Linked DNA regions of Homo sapiens: all the other regions are linked to region 2. Evidence: promoter capture Hi-C in 16 types of primary human blood cells and fetal thymus (Javierre and others, 2016). All regions are on one chromosome and are shown on one strand. The core of a region is centred on a gene start or on the middle of the fragment in contact, and the rest is flanking DNA. Distances in the headings are between cores, read along the strand shown. Region 1 has its middle 16 kb from the start of NUDT12. Region 2 holds the start of EFNA5 (ephrin A5). Region 3 overlaps LOC105379107 (a long non-coding RNA gene).

What was found. Contacts are between HindIII fragments. The CHiCAGO score rates a contact against its expected background, and 5 or more counts as called.
Region 1: a contact is called between a fragment that was not itself captured here and the fragment with the promoter of EFNA5 in region 2, in 2 of 17 cell types (M2 macrophages and M0 macrophages). The highest score is 10.9, in M2 macrophages.
Region 3: a fragment that was not itself captured here is called in contact with the fragment with the promoter of EFNA5 in region 2 in 1 of 17 cell types (endothelial precursors); the score reaches 5.5 in endothelial precursors.

Annotation. Positions count from the first base shown.
Region 1 is chr5:103,576,258-103,580,987 of GRCh38, forward strand. No RefSeq gene overlaps it. Among named protein-coding and RNA genes, the nearest start is that of NUDT12, 16 kb to the left of the region's middle. The HindIII fragment of the contact is 1,695 bases long and covers 2,456-4,150 here.
Region 2 is chr5:107,668,900-107,673,100 of GRCh38, forward strand. It overlaps EFNA5 (ephrin A5), which reads right to left and starts at 2,038. Exons shown (of 5, transcript NM_001962.3): 1 at 1,590-2,038. The coding sequence starts at 1,714. RefSeq lists enhancers at 1,191-1,270, 1,671-1,800, 2,511-2,650 and silencers at 1,431-1,500, 2,071-2,120, 3,481-3,550. The HindIII fragment of the contact is 4,319 bases long and covers 1,045-4,201 here.
Region 3 is chr5:103,805,396-103,809,458 of GRCh38, forward strand. The region is part of intron 2 of LOC105379107 (a long non-coding RNA gene); the gene reads left to right. Among named protein-coding and RNA genes, the nearest start is that of NUDT12, 240 kb to the left of the region's middle. The HindIII fragment of the contact is 3,084 bases long and covers 229-3,312 here.

The DNA.
Region 1 (4,730 bases), core at 2,053-4,552, 4.1 Mb before region 2:
TTGAGGAGCAACTATCTTCTTAATCTTTACATCATTATAGGCAGACACAATGCCCAGCATGTGTTATACCTTCAATATAATTTAAACGAATTCATGCATGAATCAGGAATGAAGAAAGGAAGGGAGGAAGGAAGGAAGGAGGGAGGAAGAGAGGGAAGGAGGGAGGGAGGGAGGGAGGGGATAGAGGGAGAAGTTAATGGATGTGTTCAAGATAAAACAACCAGTCATGGTAAAAGGAGGATTTTTAATCCGTGTCTCCATGGTTCTCTGATGGTCGATGGTAAATATGTAAGGAAGGTAATTTTGCATTATTTTGGTGAGAAATTCTGTATATTACATATCAGTATCAAACATAAATATTGTTATGTAAATATTCTCTGTTTTTCTCTAGGTTTTAAATACTTACCTGGTAACCTAATCCTATTAAAAGTTTTGTCTTTTTAAAAAAATATTTTCTTCTGTTTTATGTAATGCCATAGGACTAGCACAAATACCTAAAATACTGACGAGCTTAAAGTTCCTTTTGAAATGAGCATAGGATAGAGTGAATCACAGGAAGCAGGTTATGGATAAGGATAATGTATTTTGATGATATTCAAATTTATTCAGCAAAGACCAAATAAGTCAGAGCAGATTTGCTGGTTCATCAGTTGTGCTGCTTCTGCATTCTTATTAGTAAACTGTAACACATTTTACAAAGACTCAATCTTTTCCCACAGGGCACAGCTCTAGGTTAAGCCTAAAAAGCAACTTTCATTATAGATCGTTTATTGAAAGTAGAGTGAAGCAATTACAGTATCTCTCTGAAGAGGTATATTGGCCAAACACTCTACTTTGGAATAGTGCTTTATGCCGGATTAGTTATTTAATACTTTGGCTATTATTGAAACTTAGAAATGTGTATAGATGCCCCTTAGGGCTTATTGATACTGTGAGAAAAGCAACAGATATATTCTAGAAAAAAAATATGATCCTCATCAAGCCTTTTTTAAAGTTCAAGTGTAGACATTTGCCAATCATTGTTTTAGTTTTTTAGTTTGAAGTACCAGTGAAAGTTGTTTTGAGGATTTATGGAAACTAATATTTATCCATTTGACTCACTGTGGTAATTATTTTGTGGTGTGTTGATATAGTCAAATTTCCATTCTTTTGATTACGTGTTTTGTGCAAATTTTGATATAAAGATATAAGGGCTCTTCTTTTATATTTAGTATCTGAATTTTCTCATTTGACAAATTAGAATTAAATATATGAGATCTATATTTTTATAATGGGCCAATCATAAAATCTAGGCTTATTTTAGACAAACTAGTGTTCCTAAGAAGTCAAATAGTTTCCTTAGAAATAGTTGACTCTTTTCTCTTGAAAATTATGGATTTTTGTCACCTTCATCTTATATTAGGGCTAGGATACTTTGTTTTTTATTTCTTTAAATTTAAAAGCTCCAAGTTTTTGAATATGTCAAATTTATTTAAATGAAACTGAATCTTGTGATTCTTTCTTGACATTTTCAAATATGATTCAAATTTGGGAAAATTTTTTTTGCCAGCTAGTAAATGATTGCTGAAATCATGAATTGAAATTTCTCTATTTAAATGGAATGCCATATTTATAAAAGTAATAGCTTGCAAGAGATTGTCAGTGGCATTCAAATCAGAATCTAAAATATATTTCTTTCATTAAATATTTGCACAAAGTTGTTATATATTTATATAGGTCATTCCCTGGGACGTTTTATACATTGTCATTTAAAAATATTCATTCTTAAAGAGATACAATAGAAACATGCTTTATGTATACATTCCAGGTGCATGCTTGTATAGTACTGTGCTGTATCCATTATCTGCTTTTGAGGCTGTAGCTGTTATTTATAGTGTTACAGTTACTGTACATTAATTTGTTCTTGATTTTAGCTTTTCCAACTGTCCATTTTCATTATCAAGGAGAGAATCTGGCTCACAGATAAAATTTCTCACCCCCATAAGTAAAATAAAAATGAACTCTCCAAAGTTAAAGTAACAATGAAAGAAACAAATTGTAGCAATGGAAGTAATGGATTTAGATGAACAATGTTTGTATTAGTTGATGGCCTTCACAAGATTTTTACCAATATGAAAGTTCAATAATTCAAGTGAATGGAATTACTTAAAAGATATACTTGATGTGCACTAATGAAATAATATTTTCTTTTCTTTTGTTTTCCTGGCATAACTGTGTTTTATTTCTTCCCCAAATTCTTTTTTGCTTCAACCATATAGGTGTAATAATATTTGGTTGAAGTGGAGTTTCAATACTGCTTGCCTAGGTTCAAAACCTGGCCTTGCTACTTATAAGTTGTTGTTTAGGGGCACTTAATCTGTCCCTCAGTTTCTGTTTTTAAAATCAGAATAATAGAATAATTAATAACTTTCTCATAGAATTGTTATGAAGATTAAATAAGTAAACACATGCAAAAAGCTTATTACCATATGTAATTTAAACAACACTGGAGTTATTTTCTAATCTCTTTATTGTTATGGACATTAATGTATTTTTGTTGTTGAAATGGGAGAGTGTTACAAAAAAAAGTTAGCTGGGTGTGGTGGCACGCGCTTGTAATCCCAGCTACTTGGAAGGCTGAGGCAGGAGAATCACTTGAACCTGGGAGGCAGAGGTTGAAGTGAGCGGAGATCGCCCCACTGCACTCCAGCCTGGGTGACAGAGTGAGAGTCCATCTCAAAAAAAAAAAAAAAAAAGAGAGAAAAAAGAGATGGGATAGTGTTTATTCAGTGAGCACCTAGAATTAAAAAGTGAATTGCGTGAATAAATTCTCTCATTAACATGGTTTATTGTGGTTGTAATGGTGGGGTTAGTAAAGAAGTAGAGATAGTCTCCTAGTCTCCAAAATGACTTGGCACTTGAACAGTTTAAAGTACATACTAAAGTTTGTAGAAATTGTATGCAACCATCACTGCTGCCTCTGTTGTGATCATGTGGCCCTTCTTTTAGATAAGGAGTTATAGCAATACATTATATAGCATTGGATTTTGACCTTTGATATATAAATTCTGGTCATCTCAAGGTATCTTGTAGGGTTAATACAGTTGTAAGTAATAATAATTATAATACATTTAAGAGATTACAACATACATTGTGTTATCTGGTTCCTTCATTATGCAGTAGGTACAGTTAATTATCTTCATTTTTCTGATGAAGGCTCACTGGCTTAGAGAAGTAAAATGCCTTACCTGAGGTCACACAGTTAATCATAGTGGCAGGATGTATAGAATTGGCCTCATGTCTAATTTATATTTATTTATTAACTATTTCTAGTTACCAAAACTCTATTAAAAATGACATTGTCTTAAGAAAAAGGTACTTACACAAAAGTAGAGTTAATATCTAGATTGTATAAGAACTTAAAGTCACTGGTGTTATAAAATAACAAAGAAAGTAGGATAAGTATTAACAATTGCTTTAGTTTATACTATTTGAAAGACTCAGAATCCTTGGCATCAGGTTGTTTTCATAATAAGTAAGGACCATATAAAATGTGTCAAGACCTTTTTCTCAATTGATATGTTTTAATAAGTTTTATAACATTCAGTTTTTAGTACAGTCTATATACTAAAATTGGAAAATTAGAACTTAGTATAGTCTATATACAAAAATTAGTATGTATAGTCTATCTACTAAAATTAGTATAGTCTATCTACTAAAATTAGTAGATATAGTCTATATACTAAAATTAGTAGATATAGTCTATCTACTAAAATTAGTAGATATAGTCTATCTACTAAAATTAGTAGATATAGTCTATCTACTAAAATTAGTAGATATAGTCTATCTACTAAAATTAGTAGATATAGTCTATCTACTAAAATTAGTAGATATAGTCTATATACTAAAATTAGTAGATATAGTCTATATACTAAAATTAGTAGATATAGTCTATATACTAAAATTAGTAGATATAGTCTATATACTAAAATTAGAATGTTTTTGAAATATGTTTTAAGAAGAAATATGTATTTTTGATAACTGTATTGGCAATTCTTAAAAACGTGGAGGAAGTGATAAATATATCATTTGGTAATTAATTTGTGTAAAGACCCCTAAAATCATTAACAGCAGGATACCTTGAAAATTAAAAGAGCTTATTTAAAATATAAGCTTATTAGCAATAACAAATGGACTTCAAAATGAAATATTTACTTTCTTACCCATTAGCATTTTAATAATGAGAATATTTTAGACATGTACCAGTTTTTACCAGGTTATACTGCAGTGACAATCGACCTCTAAATTTCAGTGACAACAAAATAGATTGATTTCATGTTATATGTCTATTGCAGATTGACATGTAACACAGTCTCACATTATTGTAACACAACCTTACATTGTTGTTCTTTCTTGTATGGTCTAGGGAAAGGAAAGCCAAGGTGGCATTAAGGTTCCTGCTTGGCAATGCCACAAGTCACTTGGGCTTATTTTGGACTGACCAAAGCAAGTCATGAGAAGCAGTTAATATTTTGAAATAATATCACAATCTACTACAAACACCATTATAATTCCTAGGCATGGACCCTGCTTAAGATAAATATTTCAGTTTTGTGTGTGTGTGTGTGTGTGTGTGTGTGTGCATGTGTGCACGTGCATGCACACTTATATCTAAAATTGTATCTCATGGGTAATAGCTACATTTTTCAGCTTTTTTTATTGTTGGCTGGGATTCTAATTTTTTTTGTATC
Region 2 (4,201 bases), core at 788-3,287:
AGAAGAAATCGCTTCCCATTCCACCACCCACCTCCAGGAGACTCTTGTTTTTTGAACCAAACTTTCAGGAATATCTCCACTCCTGTTCAGCGGTTCATTTAGGACTTGGGCGGCTACCTGAGTAAGACTATCTTGGACTAGCGGGATAGGGGGAACTCCCTCCTGGTTCTGTAACCGGCGGACTGCTTGTGGGGAAATCTTCCCATCTTCATCTGCGCTGACATTATTCAAGCAGGGAATCCCTCTCTTGCCTGCATGCTGAGGGGAGGCTGGAGGCAGGCGGAGAGGGCCCGCAGGAGATAGAAAAAACTGGAGGCGCCCACCGATACCCTCTCTCCTGGAGCCCGGGGCGCGCACCAACTCTTAGGCTAACCCCTCGGCCTCCCGCCTCTCTCTTCCCAACTTCCACTCCAGCCCAGTGAAAAACCTGTGACTTTAGATGCAATCGGTACTATTAATAAATAGCACCTAGGAGGGCACCGAGACCGGCACACAGCTGGAAGCTAGCCTCTGTCCCAGAGAAAGCAGTGCGGTATGGGCCTAGCGGGGCCGACTTCTGTGCACAGGCCGGGAAGCAATAAAGGTTCGGAACTGCTCCAGACCCGGAGGACCCCGCCGGGCACTCTGGATAACCTCCCCACTCCACTTCCAGGGTCCGAAAACACGGGACGTCTGCGACTGGCCGGTGTCCAGCACGCGCACTAGGACCGCCCCCGGCGCCCACCTCTAGTCTCCCGCATACCCGGCGGGCTTCGGGACGCCTACAAATCGGTTCCAGGTAATCGCGCGCGTTCCTCCGGCAGCACATCGCCAGGCCGCGGGCGAAGGGCTCCCACCTCCTGGCTCGGCCAACTCTGGCAGCTTGTTCTGCACACATGACGTAACCCGGCATTAGATCAAACTTTCTGGCACCTTGAACCCACTGGGGTGGGTGGAGGGATGGAGAAGATGGGAGAATCCTCTCCACTGCCAGGCGCGCCGGGCCCAGACTGACTCAGGGGCCGAATGATTTCCTCGCAGTTGAAGAGGAAAATAAAAACCTAAAGCTTCCGCTTCCCAGCCCCCCTCACTTCCCCCAGCCCGTGCGCTCTCTCTGCGCGCACCGGGAAAAGAGAAGGGAAAATTAAAATTAAAAAAAAAAAAAAAAAAAAAAAAACTTTGGGGGATGTTTGGCGGGTTCTCTCCGCAGTCCCTGCGGACCCACGCTCCAGGAAGGAGCTCCCGGCTGCGCACACTGGGGGCTCCCCGCGCCGGGAACCGGATGCCAGCCAGATGCCGGGGCTGGGAAGCAGAGAAGTCCCTACTCCCCGGCTCCCGCCCTTTTCCGAGTCTCCCGGCGCCCCGCAGAAGCAGTTGGTCTAGGCAGCCCCGGGGACTCCCAGGGGTACCTGGCCTTTCCGCGGCGGCTTAACAAAGAGGGGCGCGACGCGAGCGCTTCCCGCCGACGCCTCAAGCCATCAGCGCCCGGGCGACGCAGGCTCCGAGGGTGCGCGCCGCCAGCGGTTGGTGCGCGCCGATCCCCGCCGCCGCTCCTTCCGCAGGGCCCCGAGGCCCGGGTAGCCCTGGCTCTCCGCCTGTTATCGGCTTACCTGGGGTTGCTGCTGTTCCAGTAGACAGCGTAGCGGTCGGCGACGGCCTTGGAGCCCGGGTCCTGGCTGAACACACACATCCAGAGCACCAGAAACACCAGCGTCAACATCTCCACGTGCAACATCACGCCTGGCCAGCGGCGGAGCCCCCGACGCGCCACTCCGGGGAGAGAGCGGGGATCCGGAGGGAGGGAGGCAGGCAAAGGGACAGAGAGAGAGCGGGCGCCAAATAAATATGAATAAATAAAAATGAAAGTGGGCGAGAAAGGAAAGAGGCGCCCACCAAGCTGGGGAGGGGTAGGAGAGCGAGAAGAAAAGAAGGCGGTGGGATGGGGGGTGATAAAGACAAACTCGCACCCCCACTGGAGGGTTCAGGAGGAAAAAGGAATCACAAGATGGAGAGAAGCGTGCGTGTGTGTGGTGGCGGCGGCGAGGGCGGGGGAAGAGGTGCCAAGCTGTGTCTCGGGCGGCGGCGGCAGGCCGGTCACCCCGGGAGAGGGAGGTGCGCGCCGGGCCGGGCGGCTGCAGCGCGGGTCGGGGCAGGCGGCGGCGCGCGCTGCACAGTCACCGGGAGTTGCGCGCCGCAGCCGCGGGGAGACATACACCGGCCCGCCGGGCCCGGCTCAGCGTCGGCGCAGCAGGCTACGCACGGCTCCGCCACCGCCCGGGGCCCTCGCACTGCGCCACGCTTCGCTCCAAGTTACTTTGGCGGCCGGTGGGAAACTGCAGGAGAAGGGCGACGTGCTGATAGAGGGCTTCGCGCTTGTGGTCCCGGGAGTCTGAGAACCCCTTTCCTCAGCCTCCTCTGTGCCTTAGCGGGGCGACCCCCAGAAATCTCAGAGGAGTCGTAAGTGCTGCGGTACCGGGCGGTGCGCCGAGAAGGGTGGGGATCCGGAGCCGCAACCCAGCCTTGTCGGTGTCCTGGAACTGGTTAAGCGGCAGCTGCGCCGGCTTTCGAAGCGGTCTTGCCTCGAAAACCTCAAAGAAAAGTTTGGCTCTTCGCGTCTTCCGGCAGGTCCCCCAGCAGAGTCGGAACGCGGCGGTAGCGGAAGAGGGCACCCCGGGGGCTGGCCGAGCCTCGGGGATTTCTCGCGCGTGCTTTCCTTGGCTGGGTGTGGGTGCACCACAGTGAATGAAGAGCAGAGGTTAAGACCAGCCGGCCTGGCAGAGCTGGGATTCCTAAACCTGCAAGACGACGCCAACCCAACTGTTCGGCTGGAGAGCGGGAGGGGAAACAATCACTTTCAAATGGATCCCTCCAACTCCTGGATGGGCCGATGTCAGTCTCCGATCGCCTTCCGAGAGGGAGACTGAGCCCCCACACGCGGTGCCAAGAGCCCGGGGTGAGCTCTCAGAAGTGTCCCTGCGACTCCAGCGGGTCCAAGCCTAGCAACTTGTAGAGATGCATCAATCAGTTTGAAATGGGAAAAGAGGAAAAAAAAAAAGCGCACGAGCGAGTGGCACCTCCCCGATGACTACATCAGAAAACCTTCCCGATCCTCCCGCAGCTGCTCCTCTTTCCCTCCTTAGGCACAGCAGCAACAGAGGTGAAAACCACAAACCGAATCCTAAAACCCCTACCCAGGCGGGAAAATAAATAAACTTGAGTGCAGCAGCAGCAGCACGAGCAGCCCAGGAGGAATTGAAACGACTGGCAAGAAGTGGAAAGGGTTTTGTAAAAGTCAGTTTTGCAAAAGAGGGGGAAAAAAAGAGAGCGAGAGAAAAAATGCTTTATGGGAAAAAAAATCTCCTCGGGCACGCCCCCTCGTTAATGACTTGCGTGGAAAGCCGACAGCGGCGGCGACCCAGTGGCAGCAGCCTCAGCAGAGCGCGAGGCCGCACGCGTGAACGTGGACGTGGGCGGGGGGATGGGGCTCCGCCCGGGCGTGTTGCGCGGGACGCGGGACGGGCGGGCGGCGCGAGCGCGGGTGTGAGCTCCGGACGAAGCAGGGGGAGGTGCCGCCAGCCCGCGCCCAGCCAGCGCTGCTGCCGCTGCGGCCCGGGTCATGTGGACTGTCTTTTTTTTTTTTTTTTTTTTTTTCCTCCTTCCAAGCAGTTTACTTGGGAAGGGTGGGAGCGCGGTGGGGGGATAGCTGGAGCAACCAGTCAGGGAACGGCCTACTGTTTGCTTACAGATTGGGGGTTTTTCCTCTCTCTTTACTCCAACCGGATTGGTTTGCTCCACGAGAAAGAGGCGTTTTCCTAATCTCCCTTCCCCACGCCTCCTACCCCCTCCCCCGCCCCACCTTCTAGAAACCTGACTAATTGAATTACTGGGAGTGCCGAGGCGCCCTCTCCTGCGCCGGAGCCCGGCAGCCACGTGTAACCCTTTGGGTGCTGAATTCCGTCTGGGCTAAGGAATGATTTGACATCTTTTTACCTGGGAGTAGGGTCTTTCGATTTTAAAGGAACCTGTGCCCACCCTTTGGCTGGAGAGCCGGCATCTGTCTCTGGTGCCCCGCAGGTGACGGATGGGCTGGAACGGAGCCTCAGGGAGTGCGCGTTCCTGTCCATTCCACCCGCTCTCCACGCCGCACGCTGCCTGGCGCTGGGTTATCTGGAAGTCTGAGCACCCCTCCTGTGCCTTTCAGCCCTCCTCTTCCCACTTGGGA
Region 3 (4,063 bases), core at 521-3,020, 3.9 Mb before region 2:
TTCATAGCCTCATAGCTCCTGGTGAGGAGTAATTTCCCCCTGCCTTTCTTTCTTTGCTTTCTTCCTTCCTCCTTCTTTTATTCTTTTTTTTTCTTTTCTAATGGGACGAGCCCCATTGAATTTGCGACAACATGAGATTAAGTGTGTGGGTTTCCCACATGTACTGCACACTTTTTTTGTTTTTGTTTTTGTTTTTTTTTTCCCCATTTCTCTGATACAACTGAATTAAGCTTGCCTTCAGAATCAGTCTGAGAGGTGGCTGGTAAAATTTTTTTTGGCAAAACAAAAAGACCTGCCTGAACTTCATCCCAGAAATCTAACCTATTCCCACTTTGAGCTTTACCTTTTTGTCTTTGAACAATAACTTCACCTTTCCCTGTCTCTAACCGGACATGATTTTTATATTCCACAAACAGAAATTTGAATTAAAATGCACGTCTCAGGAAAAATCAGTTTTTGACTTAGAATCATTTGTGTTGGGAGTCAAAAATTGCTCTAAGCCTTTAACTTTAAAACAAAGAGGAGAGTTTGAAGTATATGTGTTGAGGGTGGGGGCAGTGAGGGATTGGAGGTTTGGAAGTGGGATAAATTCACAACTCAGGAAGATTAGAGACCACAGAAAAAAGCTGGGTGTAAATTTCCTACTTCATCTTTCTGCCCAAAGCCAGCTCTGTTCCTCTTCAGCTATGTGAGTGCAAATAAAAAAGAGAGGCATTGAAAATACGCTACTGACACAATCCGTTTTTCCGTGTTCCTTTTTACAGAATTTGCTTTTGCAACTAGGGAATACGTACCAACATTTTGGAATGATCTTGCTGACAGTTCAAGAAGAATGTAATCAATAGACACAGGGTTGCTAATCAACTCATCTGGTTTTGTTGTTGTTGTTGTTGTTATGGGGTGATGGTGGGGCAATCATATTCCATTTCTATTGACAGAAATCTGATTCAGAAGTAATTATTGGCAGCATCCCTTTTCTGTGCCAAAGAAATGATTTTCTTTCAGTATAAATGCCATAATAAACTTATTTTGTGAGGGAAGAAGAGAGATGAATGAACCTTGGCATTCCCTTGTTTATACTCAGAACATAGCTATTCGTTAATTTTATTATGCTGCAAAGTAAAATGTGCAAGTTTATCTTTTAAAATAACTCAAGAAATGACAACGAATTGCAAAGGATAGCATAAGAATATGGAGGGGCAAAAAGAGAGAATAAAATGTTTTGTTTTCTCCACAGGAAATTAAGCGAAATATATTAAACTTTTCTTTAAAATAAATATTAATGATCAGTAATTCAATTTCCTGTCTGTTTGTGTTTTAAATCCTGCAGCGTTCGTTCTGGTTGCTTTGATGTCCAGTCTGTTTTTGTTATCACTGGGCTAACACAGTGAAAGACAGTGTTGTACTCTGCCCAGGGCTCTAACAAGTCTCTTTGAAACTTTGGAAATAGTTTGCCACTAAAGGACTCAGAAAAATCACTGCCTTTCCTGTTGTTATTTATTATAATCTGTAAGTGGAAAAATTGCTATTCTGAAAGAAAAAGTTAATATATTTAATGCTTTATTCAATTAGACCTATTGTTTTCTGATGGCCCCCAGAATGTTTGGAAACACTCTATAAAATTAACATCTAGGTACAAAAGACTCCCAGTAAATAGTTACAACAACAACAAAAACAAGAAAAAATTAACAAAGCAGCAAAATGAAAACTGATAAATCCTTAAATTTCAGGGGAATGTGTCAGGAAATGTTTCCCATTTCAAATCATAACAGATAGGAAAAATTGCATAGGTGATGTATCATACAAACTGAACTTGAGCACTTTTTCTTTTCTCTAAACGCAGTTCAAAATGGTCTCATCTTTATTATAGTCTTTAAATAATTATTAGGCTTAATTGCCACAGTTCATAGAAATTTTAAAATTAGCAAGTGGTGCTTATCTCTCCGCAGTGCTCAGTGTTAATAAAACATGCTGCTCCATAAACACATTTCACATCATATTTGTCCATGATTATTTCATTGCTTTTCCAAGTACAGATGCCAGCAAACAAAGTGTTGCTGAATTCCTGTAATTACCAGCATTTGCCTCGATTTGGGTCCATGAAGTATGTAGTCAATCTCTATTGTCTTCTGCCTCTGTTTTGAATCTGTCCCCAGTGCAGGAATGTCAAAAACACCATTTAGCAACACAGCCTGCTCAATTTTAAAAAGGGAAAATCACATTCAAGCTACTAATTAAGAAAAGAAGAGAAGTGAGCTGTGAATTAAAAAAAAAAAACTACCTTCTAAAAGGCTTTAACAAGAAACTTGCAACTCTGCTGCATTCAGAAAAAGAATGATCCTTATTTATCAAAGCTAAATTCTAATATAGCAGTTAGAGGTGAGATTTAACTGACTTGTTAATATTTTAAAAACAGCCAAGTAAATGAAAATTCAAGTAATTTCTATTTCTTTTCTATCTTTAAAGGGGAGCTTAATTAACTGATTTTTTTCAGCTATCTAACACTCCTTTGTTAGAAGATTCTTCCATCCACTTAAGATCCTTTTGATATTTTGTTAAATGTGCATTCCTTTGAAAAACTACACTGATGCCCTATCATGCCCAGATATTTGGCAAAATTGTCATAGAGTTGTTTCTTCAATAGAATACTTCTACCAAATAATTTGTCTTAATGATTCTCAGAACATTTAGGATAAATCATGTTGATCACCATTTGATTTTGATCAAAATCATATATTGATCACTAAGCGTAAATAATTTAAAACGGTAAATACCAAACAGTAAGAAAATCCTTCTTCCATGTAATATTACAATATGGAGACTACTTCAGCAATAAGTAAGTGAAAAATACCAGTTGTAGATCTGGAAGTAGAATCCAAGCAGGCTCTATAACCATATGTAGTTTGAGCACAGGAATTATGTCATAGGTTATTCTTTCTAAATTAATTATTTATTACTTTAATGCTATATGTAGATTGATAAAAAATATGAAAAGGTAAGTATGCTCAGCCATACTTTGCTGATTTGGTCTAACAGAGTAAATTATAGCAGGAACAGAGTTCTGTTAAACTATTTGAATACCTTATGCTTCTTTATGTTTCCCATGATACTTTGAAAGTGGTAGTGTAGACAATTGCCCTTACTTCTACTGTCATTCTCCTAGAAATAAGAAATACATTAAAGTCTATCAATAGCTCACCATGTTTACGATCTCACTTTTTCTACCTTAGGACCTAGGCCCAGGGGCACTTACAGAGGCCAGCCACTAGATGCTGCTAGTATTCTTTCCATTGAGTAGTATTCTGCCAAGCAAGCTTTCCATTCCAGGATGTCAAAAGACATTGAAGTTTTTCTCAAATTGGCGCCATTTGACCTTCACCCATAGCTGTAGCTTCGTTGCTATCTACAGTCTATTCCTTACCTTGGGTAGCAGGTATTTAAAGAGGTCTAATTTTTGAGACTTACCATTAAATCATCTTGGAAGATATTTTTCCAGTCCTTATCTGAATTTTATTTTCCTACATGCCTGCATTTCTGTCTTGGACCTCATGCAGTGCCCATGAAGGGCTGGATTCTTGGCAGTCTCCCTTCTCCCTTCTCCTTTTACCTTCAAATTACTAGAATTTTACTTATCAACTTGATTTTGACAACTAGGTCCCTGCTACCTTTTGAGTGTTTGCCCAGCCTTCTAACTGCTGACCCATCTGGATTTTCTATTAGTTAAAATACATGTTCTATGTATATATTCAAAGTTAGGTCAGATAGCAGGGCAATATGGCTTCACTTTGGTGCTCAAATAAATACACGATTTTAACTTACTAGCTGGCTGAAAGAGTATCTCTTTTTTATGGCCACTCTTCACTCTCATCTCTTTCCACCAAGCTGTTTAGTAGAGTAAAATAGATGAAGATAATGTTCTCTGATAGAGGGAATTGTTCTTTGTCCAAGATTTTGGAAATAGTCTCTCTTTTCTATGATAATATTAAAATTTTGAGTCTTATTTGAATGAATTTTGTTGCCTAAAAAATTACAACTTTAACAGGTACTTATAATGAGATATTTT